Regions from separate parts of the Homo sapiens genome. Here region 2 is linked to region 1. Evidence: promoter capture Hi-C in 16 types of primary human blood cells and fetal thymus (Javierre and others, 2016). All regions are on one chromosome and are shown on one strand. Each heading gives the region's core, a stretch centred on a gene start or on the middle of the fragment in contact. The rest is flanking DNA. Distances are from core to core; before and after follow the strand shown.

The links. Contacts are between HindIII fragments. The CHiCAGO score rates a contact against its expected background, and 5 or more counts as called.
Region 2: a contact is called between a fragment that was not itself captured here and the fragment with the promoter of CHD1 in region 1, in 1 of 17 cell types (non-activated CD4 T cells). The highest score is 5.2, in non-activated CD4 T cells.

Annotation. Positions count from the first base shown.
Region 1 is chr5:98,926,002-98,932,301 of GRCh38, forward strand. CHD1 (chromodomain helicase DNA binding protein 1) reads right to left here and starts at 3,006. Exons shown (of 36, transcript NM_001270.4): 1 at 2,538-3,006; 2 at 333-533. The coding sequence starts at 385. CHD1-DT (CHD1 divergent transcript) reads left to right here and starts at 2,561. Exons shown (of 4, transcript NR_151718.1): 1 at 2,561-2,641. It overlaps LOC100289230 (a long non-coding RNA gene), which reads left to right and starts at 3,133. Exons shown (of 1, transcript NR_036530.1): 1 at 3,133-5,008. RefSeq lists silencers at 2,150-2,779, 3,040-3,249 and enhancers at 3,023-3,921, 3,410-3,739. The HindIII fragment of the contact is 7,543 bases long and covers 1-4,680 here.
Region 2 is chr5:65,717,165-65,723,464 of GRCh38, forward strand. SGTB (small glutamine rich tetratricopeptide repeat co-chaperone beta) reads right to left here and starts at 4,945. Exons shown (of 11, transcript NM_019072.3): 1 at 4,753-4,945; 2 at 3,544-3,665. The coding sequence starts at 3,643. NLN (neurolysin) reads left to right here and starts at 5,041. Exons shown (of 13, transcript NM_020726.5): 1 at 5,041-5,250. The coding sequence starts at 5,210. RefSeq lists silencers at 2,275-2,471, 4,516-4,565, 4,626-4,675, 4,746-5,355 and enhancers at 5,632-6,300, 6,226-6,300. The HindIII fragment of the contact is 291 bases long and covers 3,650-3,940 here.

The sequences.
Region 1 (6,300 bases), core at 1,756-4,255:
AAATTTCACTAACAGTCAAAACAATTTAAATCTATTATACATGCTCCAGCTTAATTATTAGCTCAAATATAAACTTCCAAATAGATTTAAGTAAACAAAAACTTTCTATATTTAAGATCTACTGTGTATCTGAATGAAAAATATAATTAAAACCTGTATTATGAAAAAAGGTTCGTATATCAGAATTTTTTTAGTATTTGGATAGCTAAGAGGAAAACCTGAAAACTCTGCTACCTATGAGGAAAACTAAATAACAACAATAACAATAAAGAAAAAAGTCAAGTTTTCAACTCTCTTCATAGTAAACAATTGATAACAAAGTGCTTACTTACCTTGATTCTCCACTACTGTTTCTAACACTTTCTTCATCACTGTGTCCATTCATTGTAAATTATTATCAAGAAGTTTTAAAGTAAAATATAAATCTTCCCAGTTTAAAAGATGAATATAAATACTGACTCCTTGAATATAAAAATTCACAGATGAATTTTCTTCAACAGTCACAGGTTTTCTGGGACTCTCCTTTGATTCACCTAAAGAAAATATATTAATAAATTAACAAAATTTCCTGCAGAAAAAAGGTAAATTAAGCCCTGTCTAAAACGTATAAATCTACGTAGGCCAATTAGACTACAGCTGTTAAGGAAGAAGTGGGGGCCTTTTATTAAATACTTAAAATATCTAGACTTGTAATAACTACACTCCTGACTGCTAACTAGAATTTAGTATGCTACTGCTAATATACTTCGGACAGAAAAAATTAAAATATTTGTGGAGTGAAAGGATTTTTAGAGACTAACTGCAACTAACAATGTTTTTATAGACTCCTAAAGCAAGGTGATACGATGTAACATATGCATACATCCCAAGAGTAGATAACGGAGTCTTATTAGATAACTTGGTCGAATAAATGAAGTGGGGGGGGGGGTGGGAGGAGGTTACCTTTAATCAAGCCCTCACTCCTATCACCAAGAACTTCATACACTTGAGTGAGAAAGTTCTGAAAACGCTCCCATGGGAGGAACAGGCAAATAAAAGATACCATATACTCTCAACAAAAATGCATAGCTCAAAATAAATGTGTTATTTAACAGGTAAACGGATAGTGGGATGATAACATTTAAATAATACTTAACCAGTTTGCACTTGGTTTTTATTTTGTGAAAAAAATTGAAAAGGTAATAGAATATACACTATATCTGATTTTTTACGTAAAAAATTTGGGGCAAGAATAATGAACCAAGACACACCATTTCCACCTTTAAAGATTTCAGTACAACACTGAAGAATCACCTACAAGCCATCCACGAATAAACAAAGGAGATCTCTGGCAGGGGAGGGAGAGGAAGAAGCGGGGGAAGGAGACGTCAGATCCTTCCCCAGCCAGAAAGTACCGAGACAGCCAACTGAGAGCAGAGCTGTCCTCCGACCTCAGCAAAGAGAATTCACTCCTACGATTATTTCCATTCCACAAGAGAGGGAGGGAAACAGATTGTTACCAACTCAATGATAGCAAAGTCTGCATCTGGATCAGGATGTTAATTCTCTAGACTACTGTCCAGTAGACTCTGCAAGAACAGGTTATCTAAAAAGTAACCGTTCTACTCAACATTTATTCCTAATGTTAAATATTAATCTCAACCCTAGTCAAAGTGCCTTACTGAACAATTAAGTCTTAAAAAATCTAAGTATGTTAACAAACTGCCTTTCCCGTTTCTTCCTTTAAAAAGTTCACTCCCCTTTTCGTTCTTTCCTTTTCACCTTCCTTTCGTCCCTCAAAATGGCTTTCTCTGTACATTTTAACTTCCTTTCCCCTCCATCTCCCTTATCCGAATAAGTCCTCTGAGACCCTTTTCACAACCCTGAGTTCTGAAGCTCCAAGCGCACACAGCGCTGTGTCCTCTCAAGCGTCTCCACAATGACTACCCTAAGTTATTAAACCTCTTCAATCCTCTGTCTTTTAGCAGTTGCTTTGCTCCTGCTAAGTTTTTAAAGCGGCACTCGAAAGAGGTTTGGAAACCATCCTCACTCATCCATCCAGCGCGCTCCAATCAGCCTCCCTCGCGGACCTGCCCCCCTCTCCCAGGGCCTCCATCCCGGTCCAGGAGTCCCTCTTCCCGCCTCAAACTTCCCGCAGACCCGCCCCGCGCCCTCCCAGGCTCGCCCGAGCCGCCGCCCCCTCCCCCTCCCGCCGCTCCCCACGTGCTGGGAGCCCGGGTCGCGGCAGGACCCACGCACCGGCTAAGTGCTAGCCATTCGCGGGTCTCCTCTCGCGGCCCGGTCGGCACCAAGCCGAAGAGGCCGGGGCAGGGCCGCCGGGCCGGCGCAAGGATGCGTTCTGCGGCCCCGGCCTGTACTCGCCGCTCACACGCCCCCTGCGCGCCAGGCCCGTACACCGCCACCGGCACTCACAGAGCCACCCGGCCTTCACCCGGCCGCTGGGCCGCCGCCTGGGCACCGCGCCGCGCCCGCCCTCCGCCCGGCCGGTTCCTGTCCTCTCCGCCACATCCTGACCCGCCCGCCGCCCCCTTTCTTACCGGCGGGCTTGGCGGGGCGGAGGGAGCCGACTCGGGTGGACGGCCTCCCCCGCGCCCAGGCCCGGGATCTCCGCCGCCCAGTCCTAGGGCTCCGGCGTCTCGGGGTAAGCAAGAGTCCGTGCGGGGGAGGGGGAAGGGGACAGACGCGGAGGGGAAGGGGAAGCCCCGGTCCGCAGCACCAACGCGCGATCCCCTGCGGAGTGGAGCTAACAATTCATTATTGAAGCACCAAGGGCGAGGGCAGCAAGAGCTATAAGTAACCAGTCGTCGCCGCCGCCGCCGCCGCCGTCGCGCGCGCGCTCCCGCTCCCTCCGCTTATCTGCCCCCGGCAGCCGCCATGACGCCGAGAAAGCAAGCGAGCGCAACCGTCTCCGTCGTAGCCGCCGCCGCCACCGAGGTCGCCGTCGCCTCCGCCTCCCGCGCGACGTAAGCGCCTCTGCTCACTCCCCTTCCCGACAGAGCGCGAGGCGGGCGGGCGCGCGCACGCCGAAGCCTTTCTGCTCGCGCGCGGGAGGCGGGAGGGACTACGTTGAAGGGTCGTGGGCGTAGGAAAAAAGCGATTGGTGCTGGGGCGGGGCGGGGGGGGCGAGTGCGCGCACGCGCACGAATGGGAGTGCGCACGGCGGATGCGCAGAGGCTGTCGGACTCTGACTGCGCGGAGACCGCTGGACTCTGGTCGCGGCCTTAGTCCGCTGATCCTCGCTTGGGTGCCCGCCCTTAGCGGCCCGGCGTTGAATTCCGGGAAGTGGGAGCTTCAGGCTCGCTCCGTGCGGGTATGGGCGCTAATGTCACTTGGGATGGTTGCGCAAGGACATCGCGGCGGACACTGACAAGGAACCGGGGAGGAACGGGGGTGGGGAGAGACTGCGATGGGACTCGGGAAGCCGGGAAGGGCCGCGCTGAATAAGCCTAAGGGGCCGGGTCGCAAGGAGTGTCGGGTAGCACAGGCCTCGGCTCAGTCGGAGCGCCAGGCCTCAGGGTCCGGGCGGGGGCTGCTGCGTCACACCAGGCAGCCTGGGAACGCAACTGTTGGGCAACCGTGGTGGCCTCTCGCCACCTCTTACGCTTGGGCGATCTGCGATTGACGCATCCTGGGAGCTGATGTCCCGCACGGGCGGGGCGCCGGAGGAGGAGAGAAAATAGAGACCCGGTTGTTGACAGCCTGTGATGCCGCTTGATTCATGTGTGGGTGGCCTGGTTTAGAAATGTACCACCCTTCCTTTCTAGGTTCCTCCCCGGAGGGCGGGGTGACGGGTGCGGCGCCGAATCGCAACAAAAAACGCTGCTCGAGGGATGTTAGTAACTGTCTCAGCTTAAGTTGCTGCCTTTTAGCTTACAGTTTGTATCGTAACTGTAATTGTGGATCTTAGTTAAATCCCTTCAGTGTGTTGGAAACATATTTTTAAGTGTATTTTTGAAACATACTTAGAGCATTTTGAAATGCTTTTTTGAAAGCGTTTTTTAAATCAAAATTCTGTTACACTTTATTTTTTTCAGTCTGCAGATGAACTTGACTCACTCAAGGTTAATGATTTTTGTTTTTTATTTATGTTTGTAGAGGCGGGGTTTTGTCATGTTGCTAGGTTGGTGTTGAACTCCTGAGCTCGAGCGATCCACCTGCCACTGCCTTCCAAAGTGCTGGAATTACAGGCGTGAGCCACGGCGCCCGGTGGCCGAGGTTAATAATAATTAAAAGTTTCTAATCCCATTGTTCAGTTATTTGATTTGGTGTAAAGGCGCACTTTCCAAGTCAGATGAGTTTGTGGTAACATACATTCCCCAAATAATTATTTTTCCCTTGTGGGAAATATTCCAGTTTTAGGCTACCAGCTGTTTAAACAGTTTGGTTCAAATCCTTCAAAAAAATCTCAAAACATAACTCCACATATGTATTTACTACATATTGAAGGGTGTATTCACTTGGAGAAGTAGGAGAAAGCAAACAGATGCCAATGGCCTTTTTGAAAACATGTATCTATCAGCAATAATTGAATAGCAAAACGAAGTGGAACACTACCATCCTTTGCAATATTAGATAGTTTTAATACTGGGTTGTGAGGAATGAAAAGATCATACAAATCGTCATTTCTGAAGTCATTTCTGAAGTCGTCATTTCTGAACTGAGTGCTAATTTTTCATATTAAGCTTTATGTTAATATCCTTAATGAGAGGAACTTCCTGTGCCCGTAATTTCTCCAGAGAAACTATTAACATACACAGAATGTTGTAATCAGAAGTATAGTTCAGTTAATAAAGTCCTCAATTACAACTCTGACATTTTGTCATTGTCTTATGAAAAGAATTACTGTATATACAGTCTATTTTACGTTTTCCGGAAGCACGTCAGGCAGGTTTTTTGTTTTTTTACTACTAATTGTGCCATTGAATATGCTATTCTGTCGTATTGTGCCATCAAACATGCTATTCGAAAAAAGATCTTGCCCAATTTGTAATAAAATATTGAACATTGGAGATTTAGATTTCGAGTAAAATCATACTTTATTGCTTTGCAGAAGTACACAGTAGGTGGAAAATTGCAACAATCTTGCCAGTTCATTTTTTAAAAAGCGTGTAGGTAATCCAAAGATACCTTTTTGATGATTTGTTATCAACATAGTTAAATTTGCAGTGTCACTTTATTTGAATAAACTAGCTTTATCTCTACTTAGTGGTACTAAAACAATAGCCAAACAGTTGATAATCTCAACACATGACTAACGAAAAATTCCACATAATTAACATTAACCAGGAGGTTTTTGTTACTATTTAATTTCTCATTTTTAAAATTTCATATTCTTTGGAAAGAATATTACTTTTCCGGAATCTAAGACAGCATTTTGTGGGTCCTTAATTGTGATATGCTTTACTAGGTAAAGTACTAAATGGGTATCCTTAGGTGGGGATAGGCTGGGAACCACATATCCAGAATTGTGAAATATATAACATAAACAGGATAACTTGCTCCTTTGTTAGCTTTTTGGATGCCAGGGTTAAGATTTTAATTCCATAATTATGTCCTTGTTGCCTGGAGGATTTGCATATGAGAAACCACAAAAACAATCGGGACATTATTAAAATACCCTAGAATCTCAACCTGTGACAGTATTTCCCATGTCCTTGCAAAACCAGAGGAAGTCTTTCCAATATGATTCTTAAATTTACAAAGTCCTCTGAATAGAAACCATGAAATCCTAAGTCATCTTCTAGTGAAGATTTGCTGTACATTTTCTGTTTTCCTAATAAGAAATTAGAGGAGTTTAGTTCCCAGTGTTGGGCAAGGGATAGGACTCAGTCACCTGGAAAGTTCTTTTGTAACTACACGTGCCTGACACTCCTATTCTTCCCCTCTGCTGATATGCAGAATTTCTAGGTTCTAGGTAGTATTTGGGAAGTTTCCCAGATTATTCTGATATCTACCAGCGGCTCATCCACCTTCTTTATGGTCACTGTATTTGGGGATTTTGAATGATAAATTCTTGAATCACTAAAAGCTAAATTTCAAACAGAAAATTGTTAGAGATGATACTAAGAGGCAAGTATGTATAAAATCTAATAGGCATTGAAGAAGATACAAAGATTCCATCCTCTACTGAAAAATTAAGTGTGCACGCAGAGTAAGAAAGAAGGTTAAGTAGCCAACCTCAAAAATATTTAAAAATTATTGCATTGATGCTGTATCACTCATTTCCTTGCCCAGATTCTTTTTTTTTTTTTTTTTTTTTGAGACAGAGTCTCACTTTGTCACCCAGGCTGGAGTGCAGTG
Region 2 (6,300 bases), core at 2,545-5,044, about 33 Mb before region 1:
AGAGTGGTATAGATTGAGAGATTGAGGCAAAGGCTTAATCAGAATGGGTTTAAGAAGAATAGAAGGAGAGGAGTTGGAGAAAGCAAGTATAGACCATTCTTTCAAATGGTTTTGCTGCAAAGGGAGACATACAATTAAGCAGTAATTATTTGCTGTTTGTTTTTGCTTTTTTGAAGAAGGGAGAATAATGGTAAGTTTATATGATGATGGAAATGATCCAGTAGGGTATGAAAATTTTATGATGTAAGATTAAAAAAATAAAATAACTAAAGTGATATCCTGGAGTAGGTGAGACAGGATGGGATCTAGTATACCAGTAGAGGGGTTCCATTTAGAAAGGAACATGAATAGTCCATCTATGGTAATAGCTAGTCAAACAGGCAGGCAGGCCGAGTATGTGGGTGCCATCATATCCAGCTATTTTCTTATTATTTCAGCTTTCTTGGTGGAGTAGAAAGCAAGGTAACCAACTAAAAGTGAGGACAGTGAAGGAGGTTTGAGGGTTTGAGAAGATATGAGAAAGTGTTAAAATGGTCATCTAGGAAAATAAATGTATGAATGAACTTAGAACAGATACTGTGATTGCCTGACAGCATTAAAGGTCTACTTGAAGTTCACAGTCATGAATTTAAAGTGGGACTAGTCAGCAAAGTTGTGTGTTTTGCTCCATTTATTTACGGCTACATGAGTGGGTGTGAGTAGTTGGGCACAAAGTAGGTGGAGAGTTGGATTTAAACAAAGTTGGGCTTTGCAAGAAAGGGAAGGAGATACAAGGGAATAATTATAATTATCAACCATGGAATTTAAGATGAGTAAGAAGAGGTGTGGGGAAAGGTGAGGCATGAACAGATTGGAGGTACTGGTTGGGTCAAAGAATAGCTGGAGTAGGGATTCTAGAGGGAGTAATCTTGGAAAGACAGGCAATAGTGGTCAGGAAGTGAAATGTTTGGGATAGAGATTAGGGAAGGAATGCAATTCTGGTAATGATTAAGTCTAGGGAAGGCTTTCTCAATCTCCGCATACTGACATTTTGGATCAGGTAATTTCTTCTTGTCAGGGGCTGTCCTGTGCATTAGCAGCATCCATGGCCTCTACCTACTCACTAGATGCCAATAATACCAGCCACCCGCCTCACCCAGTTGTGACAATCAGAATGTATCCAGATATTGCAAAATCACCCCCAAGTTGAGAACCACTGATCTAGAATATGATCAAGTGTTTGAGATCACTGGATGAGGTCAATAACTGAGAGCCAGGGAACTAAAATAATCATCAATCAGTATATTGCAATTGCCAAGAACTAAATAGGAGTAGTGCTAGAGAGAGTGACAGTGAGCAGGAACCACAATTAGTCAAGGAATGAAGCAAATGTCAGTAGATGACAATAATTAAGAGGAGTGGGTGACATAATCTGATGGCAAGACAAAGCTGATGATATACCAGCTTCACAGTAGTGGTAAAGCTGGTATTAGAACTGAGGCTTCTTTCCTAGGGCTTTTAAAAATGTCTAGAAGGTGGGCAGACACCTCCACATGATTTCATGTTCAATTAAATTAGACTCACAGAGTCAAAAATAGGGGTCAGTCAAAAACAATTGGCACCCTTTCTGACTGCCATATATAACAAACAGCTGAAGGCACATATTTTTGGCTGAATACCATCCTAAAAATAGGACATAACATCTTGGTTTGAAAAAAAAACCCTCAATTTTCTTTCTGGCCCTTAAAACTTTTATGCTGCTTTTGATTAGAAAAGAAACATCTTTTCTTAAATGACTGCATTTATCTGTTTGCTACAGAGCAATCATAACTAACATTCTCCTTAGATAACCAATCAACTTTATTTTCACATAGTCTAATCATCAAGGAGAACAAAAAGACCTTAATATTAAATGGACTGATTGCAATGTTCTCCAACTGTGCATCACCTGCTCCTCTCACTGCCACCTGGAAAGACATCAACTAACCAGACTGCAAGGAGGTTTAGAGCAAATGCCCAATTTTCATCTCCACCTCCTAAAAGCATATTCACAGGGAAATGCTTGTTGAAATTATAGAAGCAGTTTCAAGATGGGATTTATAACTATACTGTCATTTATTAAGTTCTTCCAAATGCACTCTCACTGCAATAATTAAGACTTTGGGGCTGGGAGGGGTGGCTCATGCCTGTAATCTCAGTACTTTGGGAGGCCAAGGCGAGTGGATCACTTGAGCCCAGGAGTTTGAGAACAGCCTGGGCAACATGGCGAAACTCTGTCTCTACAAAAAAAAATACAAAACTTAGCCGGGTGTGGTAGTGTACTCCTGTAGTCCCAGCTACTCAGGAGGCCGAGGTGGGAGGATCAATTGAGCCCAGGAGGTGGAGGTTGCAGTGAGCCGAGATTGTGCCACTACACTCCAGCCTGGGTGACAGAGCCAGACAGACCCTGTCTCAAAAAATAAATAAATAAATAAAAGACTTTAGGCCACAGGGACACCAGATTCACTGAACCTCCACAAGCCCATCTGCAGAATTCTACCTTGTTATGGTTGTACTGAATTTAAATTTTATAACACATAAACATGAAGAACAAAGACGGTGTCGAGGAAACACATGATGCTATCACCCACATCCTGTTCAACTTTACAGATTACCGAATCCAATATTAAAGTTAACGTAAAACACAGGTGAAATGCTCCCATTTCAAGTTCCAAATTAGGCACTGGTCAGATCTCACTAGTGGTATAATTATTAGACTTTTACATAGTGCTATTAAAATGACTCAGGTATTTTTATATATTATTTCTAAACTGGATGCTTTCCTATTAGGAAATGGAGACAACAAGATCTTCAGAGTATTAACCAGGATTTAAATCTCAGCTTTATCACATATCAGCTGTGTTATCTGCTTACGCTATTTGGTTTCATTTTCTTTTTCTTTTTTTTTTTTTTTTTTTGAGATAGGGTCTCGCTCATGGCCCAGGCTGGAGTGCAGTGGTGTGATCTCAGCTCACTGCAACCTCCACCTCCTGGGTTTAAGCCACCCTCCTATCTCAGCCTCCTGAGTAGCTGGGACTACAGGCAAGTGCCACCACACCTGGCTACTTTTTGTATTTTTAGTAGAGACAGGGTTTTGCCATGTTGCCCAGCCTGGTCTTGAACTCCTGACCTCAAATGACCTACCTGCCTCGGCCTCCCAAAGTGCTGGGATTACAGGCATGAGCCACCAAGCCTGGCCCTGGTTTTATTTTCTCACTTGTTAAATGGGGATAATACTAACATAACAGTTGCTGTGAAGAAAAAATTGCCTATAATATGAACAGCATACTTCTGACATATAGTATTTGTTCAATAAATGAACAATAGTCCTCTTAATTTGTTGTTAAAACAAACAAAACAAGCTTCAGAAAATGGAAATACGATAACCTTATAGTCAGGCCTCTCCTCTTGAAAGATCAAAAAAAATTCTGATTATGTTACAATAGATCATCAAGTTGGGCTTACAGCTATTTTAGTCTTCGTTTATAATTATAATATAAATGAACACAAAGAGCAGATGCATACCTTCCAAACTTTCTTGTTCATCCGAGGTGTAAGTGTCCATCTGACTTTGTTCCCGTAAGAAACGAATAACTGCATAAACCAGGTGCTTGATAGATGACATTTTAGAAGCTTAAACACTTTTCCTTGATAAGAAAAATGAAAACACTGAACTAAGTTATTTTAAAGAATCAGTCAGGAAAGTCATAAATTACAAAGATGATATGGGTTATAAAGTGTATTAAAGGTAAAAACAAAACACAAAACTGTATGACCTTTCATCTTTTCTCTTTGTAAAGAGTCAGGAGAGCACAAAGTATTGTGAAGGTAATTTATTACATATTTTCATTAATACCCAGTGGTATACGAGTATGTTAAATCTTGGAATAAGTAAAAATGTCTTCAAAACATGTACAGCATAAGCTTAGACTGTCACTGCATATCTCACCATACAGAAATCCCCTAAAGGCCTCAGTACTAAGTTAAGAGGCATTTCATACTGCTGACTAAAAGCTGATGTATACCAAGCATCTTCCTCTTTTTCATGGGATCTAAAAAAAGTATTAATAATGTACACTCTACCCACTTTTGTAGGTTGAGAGTTATTTGATGAGGAAACACATTCGCGAAAGGTTATTCAAGTGGTGAGTGTCGTTCTTAATAAAAATGGCATTTCTATTTAATCAGCAGACATGTCAGGAAATCGCTGCCCAAGTCGATGGATACTACAAGCCGACCGGCGCTCCCTGCAGAGGCTGTGCTCTCGTGGACAAGCTGGAAGCTCCCGGTCATGTTCATTCACATGGAATACTATCGCATCCAAACAGTGGCGCAGGGCCAGGCGGCATTCATGGCTGATTTCCACCAAATCGCATCATCCATCTGCTCCCCAGGTTCCCTAATTCAAAGCCAGGGTGTGGTACCCGCCGCTATAATGTTTATTATTTGTGTAGTTATTTTAAAGGCGATGTCAGCCTCTAGGCCACGGGGTCATAAGCACTAAATAAGGCCCCAGGGCAGAAGGTAAAAACAGAATGGGGGGAAAAGGGGTGAGAAGAGGGAAATAGGCTTCTCCCCCTTCCTCTCCCCAGAGCGCATCGAGCTCCCCCTCCCTTCCGTCCTCCCTCAGGTACCCGGCCTCGCCTCGGCCCTGCCCGGTGTGCAGCGGGTGCCGGTGCGGGCCCCGGTCCGGAGCGGCGGGAGGCGCACCCTTGCCAGACAGAAGCCCCTTACCAAGCAGGAGGACGCGAGACGACTGCTGCTGGCCCGCGGGGTTCCGTAGGCAGGCCCGCCCGACCCCTGGTCCTCGGGGCTGGAGCCCGGCTCGGGATCGCAGCACTGGTCGCGGCGGCGCAAACTTCCCCGGCCCCTAGGCCGTAGACCCCAGAACCCACCAGGCTGTGCTCTCTCTCAGGCGGCAGGGTCTGGCCAGCACCGCCCCTGGGGCGGGGCCGGACGCGAGGGCTGGGGCGGGGCCAGACACGCGAGCTGGGGCGGGGCACGGCGCGGGGCGGGGCTGGTAGGCGCCGGCGTGGAGCTGCCGCACGTGGGAGGGCGCTGGCCAGGCAGCCACTGTGGCCTCTGCGGCTAGGCCGGCTCGAGACTCCCGGGCGCCCAGGCGCTGCCGCCCGCCTCGCCGCCCCACGCCGAAGGACCACGCGCCCGCCGCCGCCAGCCTCTCAGCGCTCCCATGATCGCCCGGTGCCTTTTGGCTGTGCGAAGCCTCCGCAGGTACCTCCAGCGCGCGGGTTAACCTTGGCCGTGGGCAGGGCGGGGTCTTTCGCCGTGTGGTGCCTGGAGCCCGGACCCACCCCTTCCCGACCGCGCCTCTCCGACGCTCCCGGGACGCACCCTCCCCGCGGCTTGCAAGGTGGACCCCTGGGGGACACCTGGCGCGGCCACCTGGGGCCACCTTTCCCGCCTCCGCTCCCTCGGGAGGACGTCCATTCCTCTTTGTTTGGGACTGCCTCAGCCGCAGTCAGCGAGGCTGGTCACAGACGCGGCCCAAAATGAATGCAAATAGTTTGGATAAGAAAATCATTTCACGTTCAATCCCAATGCAGAACTACAGACCTGTCATTAAAAGTGCCGCAGCTGTGGACTCAGAACAATTGTGTTTGCTCCTCGCGCCCATTATTAGCATTCCAATCGTTTAACATCCACCCGAGATGAAACCTCTTTGGTGGTGTTGCTTGTTTCCGTCCATGCTCTCTGACTTCCTTTTTTATTTTCCTCCTCCCCATAAAACAAACATTCTGCCTCTTGCCGGTGCAAATTGACTTGGCCCAAAATGGAGAAAATGATCGCTTGGACACGGCTTTGGGCAGCCTGAGCTGCTGTTTTGGATTGCTTCCTAGCCCTCTAACCACACCCCACTGCAACAGACCAGTAGCAAGATGGTGAGGGAATTAAATTCTTTGCACGGATGCGCTGGTTTTCGGAAACAATGCCGCCACCATCCCCGTTTCCAAATCTGCCCAGAACTGTAAATCCAAATGAAGATTCAACAGAATAAAGAAAATGTGTGCTTCTTGCTAGCTATCAACAAAACTACTTTGTAACATGTCAGCATTTAAGCTTTCTACAGTTCCCTTTTGCACATTGCCACTCGTCTGTGTGGATGGAGCTTTGTGTTGCTCAGTCCGTAGAGTTAGGGAGCAGGCAGGCGACAGTGGTTAATTACAAAGAGTTAATGTGGTGATTGGTGACCATATTTCAGCCTGTCGTTTTTTGCTAGTCTCCAGGCTGCAATCGATATAGCTGTCAAATGAAGTTATACCA